Regions from separate parts of the Homo sapiens genome. Here region 1 is linked to region 2. Evidence: promoter capture Hi-C in 16 types of primary human blood cells and fetal thymus (Javierre and others, 2016). All regions are on one chromosome and are shown on one strand. The core of a region is centred on a gene start or on the middle of the fragment in contact, and the rest is flanking DNA. Distances in the headings are between cores, read along the strand shown. Region 1 holds the start of WDR64 (WD repeat domain 64). Region 2 holds the start of MAP1LC3C (microtubule associated protein 1 light chain 3 gamma).

Evidence for each region. Contacts are between HindIII fragments. The CHiCAGO score rates a contact against its expected background, and 5 or more counts as called.
Region 1: the fragment with the promoter of WDR64 here is called in contact with the fragment with the promoter of MAP1LC3C in region 2 in 14 of 17 cell types (M2 macrophages, fetal thymus, M0 macrophages and 11 more); the score reaches 14.8 in M2 macrophages.

The regions. Positions count from the first base shown.
Region 1 is chr1:241,650,990-241,653,689 of GRCh38, reverse strand. It overlaps WDR64 (WD repeat domain 64), which reads right to left and starts at 1,409. Exons shown (of 28, transcript NM_001367482.1): 1 at 1,061-1,409. The coding sequence starts at 1,205. The HindIII fragment of the contact is 1,763 bases long and covers 885-2,647 here.
Region 2 is chr1:241,997,812-242,000,511 of GRCh38, reverse strand. MAP1LC3C (microtubule associated protein 1 light chain 3 gamma) reads left to right here and starts at 1,414. Exons shown (of 4, transcript NM_001004343.3): 1 at 1,414-1,561; 2 at 1,681-1,736; 3 at 1,892-1,998. The coding sequence starts at 1,504. RefSeq lists an enhancer at 904-1,429. The HindIII fragment of the contact is 10,018 bases long and covers 1-1,558 here.

The DNA.
Region 1 (2,700 bases), core at 160-2,659, 350 kb after region 2:
TGCCTGTAATCCCAGCTACTTGGGAGGCTGAGGCAGGAGAATCACTTGAACCTGGGAGGCAGAGGTTGCAGAGAGCCGAGATCGCACCATTTCACTCCAGCCTGGGCAATAGGAATGAAACTCCGTCTCAGAAAAAAAAAAAAAAAGAAAAGAAAAGAAAAGAATTTGGGTAACTTGGGCAAATGATTTATCTTCAGCTCCCATTTTTTCCACAAATAAAATGAACATAATGACATTGATTAACATGACTATAAATTATTAAATACTATTCAATTAATACCAGCTTGGGTTTGAACACCCAAAGTCAAGATTTTCACTTACAAATTACTATGCAGCCTGGCACACTCAGAGGCTGGCTATACTATCCCTTTAGCAATTATATGGGCTCTGCTCCTTTCATTGCAACAGCAGGGTTTGTTCTGTTAGTCTTTCACTCTGCCATGTAGCTTTATTTTTCACAGCTGTCCTCAATACGCCAAAGCTGTACACTACACCACTCCCCTTGAATCTTGTCTATGCACTGGCATCTCTGCTGCAAATCCTCCTGTAAGACCACTGTCCACCATATTCTCCTTAGCTTGCATCCTCAAGATCATTCCTGCCTAGAGATATGGAGAGTGGCCAAGACAATGGAATCATGGTGAGGCAGGAAGCTGCACTTCTTATGAAAGTCTTTATGGTCTCATGATATCTTTAGGCTAAGAAAAAGCAGTGCTATACATTACTGAGCATCCCAGGTCAACCAGTGAGCCATCAAATGGCAGCGTCTACAGAAGAACACTGGACGTCATTTAATCCAATCCCATAGTTTTACAATTGAAGCAACTTCGGTTCAGAGAAGTAAAAAAAAAAAACAAAAACAAAAACAAAACAAAACAAAAGCTTCCTCATGTCCGCTTTGTTATTTAGGGACAGAGAAAGAACAAGAACTGAGGTCTTCATCCCCTTTCAGCACCCATTCTTTCACATTAAGCTCTGATGCTTCTCTCTGATGGCTTAAAACATTTTCCAGTTCTAACCAACAGACCCAATTGGACTATCGTGTAATCACTGATCTTACCTTCTTTATGGATAAATAAGCCTGCTCTTTCATCTCTTTTCTGGGCTGCTGTTTGTTCAACCAATTTTTCAAACCTGTTCAAAGCCTTTTTGAAATTGCTCATCTGAAGTGCCATGTTGAGACGCTTTTCCTTCCTGATATCCATAGGGACATAGGGGATCTTTTACTTCTGTACAGAAAGAATACTGCAAGTTTACCAATTTGGAAAACTTTCCAGTTGTTACAGTGCCTCCCTGCTGTCTCAGTTTTTGCCCTAGGTCTAATTCCTTTGATCTTAAAATCCCATAGTGCGGGTAGGAGTAAGAGTTGCCACTAGGATGTTAGCAGGGAGGAAAGCTGATTTAGGTCTGATGCATTTCATACAGACAAACATTTCAGTAAAAATCCTGACCTCACAATGTCATCAGTGTCCTTCATAGGGTCCTCATTGCATCATAATATCTCTGTAACATCCTACTTCCTTCATAAGGAGGAGATTGAGATATTTTTTTCCCCACAGACTGTGTGTGTGTGTGCGCGTGCACATGTGTGTGTTGTGTATACTGCTTGAGAGGGAAAAGGAATGAGTAAATAACAAGTAAGAAAACTGGGTAATACTTTCTCCCTCGTGTATCTCTTCTCACCTCAAACCTTTTGCCTTCCTCACAATACCGCGGAAAGTAAAGTTTGGCCAGGCACGGCGGCTCATTCTTGTAATCCCAGCACTTTGGGAGGCCGAGGTGGGTGGACCACCTGAGGTCAGGAGTTCAAGACCAGCCTGGCCAACATGGTGAAACCCCCGTCTCTACTAAAAATACAAAAATTAGCTGGATGTGGTGGCGGGCACCTGTGATCTCAGCTACTCAGGAGGCTGAGGCAAGAGAATCACTTGAACCTGGGAGTCAGAGGTTACAGTGAGTTGAGATCACACCACTGCACTCCAACCTGGGTGACAGAGTGAGACTTCCTCTCAAAAAAAAAAAAAAGTAATATTCACACTTATTCTTGCCACTGTACTGGATATGGAAATTCGAACTTCTAAAGATGAAATGTATTTCAGCACCTGTCATTTCTACCACAAACATTTTTAGAGGTCATAGGGAATACAAATGCTCTTCTTCCTTTGTGCATTGTCCTTCGATTGAAATAATAAAGTGAGCCAAGGATAAGGAAGGAGTGGCTTCTGATTATGAGGACAGCTTTTCAAGGTAAGAGGTCAGATGAATTAGAAGAGGCCTTTCTGCACATCTCCTTCCCAGTCATTGCAATCTCCAATCCGACTTAGTCCAAATGCTATTGACTCCGGTTTTCCAATTTTCAACTTTTTATGGGAAGGAGAAGTTGTTTAATGTTTCTCAACAATTAGTTAACTTCCTATGGCTTAGGTGAGTTAGATAAATTTCCTACCCCTTGGTAGTCCATCTTTTAAAACATTCTTCAAGAACTTGCATTCAGAGATGAAGCAGATGGCATTTCAGAGCACCTCCAATTCCAGTACTGTCTTCTTGGTGTCCACCTCTAACTATCTGTTAGGAGAGCGCAGTAAGATTTTATTTAAAGAAAAATCCCCCAACCCCATTTGTTTCTCCTCCTTTTTCCTTTAAAGCTTTCAAACCACTGTACAGTGATGTCTGGAGAACCACTCTTCCTACAATTCTAAT
Region 2 (2,700 bases), core at 165-2,664:
CTCACGCATGAGATCCCAGCTCTTTGGGAGGCCAAGGCAGGAGGATCACAAGGTCAGGAGTTTCAGACCAGCCTAGCCAACATGGCGAAACCCCCTCTCTACTAAAAACACACAAATTAGCCAGGCATGGTGTCATGTGCCTGTAATCCCAGCTACTCGGGAGAAATCGCTTGAACTCAGGAGGCAGAGATTGCAGTGAGCTGAGATCGTGCCACTACATTCCAGCCTGGGCAACAGAGCAAGACTCTGTTTCAAACAAGCAAAAAAACAACAAACACAACTTGGGGCTTGCAATCGGCATTGAAAGTGGGGGACAGTCTTGTGGGACAGAGCCCTCAGCCCGATCTGATGCTGTCTCCAGGTAGACAGTGTCAGAGTTGGATTGGAGGACACCTAGCTGGTGTCCACTGTAGAAGTGATTGCTCGGTGTATGGGGAACCCCCACCCACCCACACACACACACACACATCTAGTGTCAAAAGTGATCTGTGTTGTGAGAATATAGGAGAAATGGAGTTTGGTTTCCCCTATGTATGACCAGAGACCCAGTTTCTTAACTCTAAAAGCAAGATCTTGGGGACAATTGTCCTTCCTTCCTTCTTTTATCCCAGAGAAAACTAAGTGACAGAATATACTGGAGTGTAGTACTTGGACTTCCTTGTAACAACTCTGGGTTTTTTTTGTTTTGTTTTGTTTTGTTTTGAGATGAAGTTTCGCTCTTGTTGCCGAGGCTGGAGTGCAATGGTGTGACCTGAGCTCACTACAACCTCCGCATCCTGGGTTCAAGCGATTCTCTTGCCTCAGCCTCCTGAGTAGGTGGGATTACAGGTGCCAGCCACCACGTCCGGCTAATTTTTGTATTTTTAGTAGAGATGGGGTTTCAGCATGTTGGCCAGGTGATCCACCCGCCTCGGCCTCCCACGTGCTGGGATTACAGGCGTGGGCCACTGCACCCAGTGTACAGCTCTAGGTTTTAATCCATACCGCTTCTCTTACTTGCTGTGTGCCCTCGAGCAAATCACTTCACCTTTCTTAGTATAGGTTTCCTTCTGTGATAAAGGGCATGGACCATTGTGAGAACTACACAGCACACTTCAGGCTGAGGTGGATCCAGCTTGGACCCCCCCTTGCTACTGAAGGGCAAAAACATCCCAGCACAAGGCAGTTTTACCTCTCCACAGTCCGCTGCCCAGCCAATGATTTTATTACAAACCCTAATTTCTTTTGCAAAGAAACATCTTGAACTGGTCATGAACAAAGTGGCTTTCTCTGACCAGCAAGCAGGTGGCGATTCCATTTCCATCAGAACTGACCTCCTGCTGCCCAGGGAGGGGGAGTGGGGAGAGGGGAGGGAGAGGAGAGGCCTGATGTCACTCAGCCCTACATAAGGGCCTCCTTCAGGCTCCTGCAGGCAGTTTGGAAGCAGCTGGAGGAATGAGTTAGGTTCCCGGTTGCGGGACAGTTTTTTTTTCTTTTTTAAAACAGACACAGCTACTGAGTGCAATGCCGCCTCCACAGAAAATCCCAAGCGTCAGACCCTTCAAGCAGAGGAAAAGCTTGGGTAAATTTCTTGGGGTAGCTTTCTGGGTTATCTAAAGAGAGGAGCGGATCTGGCCTTCTCTTGATCTTTGCTTCTTTTCTTGATCTTTGCTTCTTCTCTTGTGCTTGAAATATTCACAGCAATCAGACAAGAGGAAGTTGCTGGAATCCGGGCAAAGTTCCCCAACAAAATCCCGGTAAGACACCACTGGACTTCCGCTGGGGGGCGTGGGGGTGGGGTTCCGATCCTGTTCTCTGAAAAACCAAGAGCAGCCAACAGCTTCCCTCTGTCTGTTCCAAGTTCCTAACACTCACGCTGAGTCACATTCTTAAGGACTGACACTCTTGACAGGTGGTAGTGGAGCGCTACCCCAGGGAGACGTTCCTGCCCCCGCTGGACAAAACCAAGTTCCTGGTCCCGCAGGAGCTGACCATGACCCAGTTCCTCAGCATCATCCGGTAGGTGGCGCAGAGCGTGCCCCGGAGGAAGGTGCGCTGGGTGCGCCGGGGCTGTTGGGCTTTCTTCGTTTGGCAGTTTTATTTTGGGGATGGGGGCACGTCAGGGGAAGAGAGGAAAGAGATTTTTTTGAAGTCACCTTTTAGATTCACTAGTACCCTGAAAAGATGCTCTTAGAATTACTCTATTTTAAACCCCGGGCGGAGTGGCTCATGCCTGTAATCCCAGCACTCTGGGAGGCTGAGGCAGGTGGATCGCAGAGGTCAGGAGTTTGAGACCAGCCTGGCCAACGTGGTGAAACCCTGTCTCTACTAAAAATACAAAAATTAGCTAGGCGTGGTGGCGGGTGCCTGTAATCCTAGCTACTTGGGAGGCTGAGGCAGGAGAATCGCTTGAACCTGGGAGGCGGAGGTTACAGTGAGCCGAGACTGTTCCACTGCACTCCTGGGCAACAAGAGTGAAACTCTGTCTCAAAAAAAAAAAAAAAAAAAAAAGAATTACTCTATTTTAAACAGGTAAGGAGAATCCCTCAGACAACGACAACAACAAAAAAGACCTGCCAACATTTCTAAGAATTTCCTAAAGTAGTTAGTCTTGGCTCTCAAGCTAGGCCGGGAGATCCTTTCTTTCAGATCTTGTGTGAAACCGAGTCTGCGCGTCCGTTGCAGAGACCAGCACCTTTTCCAAGTGTATGTGTGCCTAGG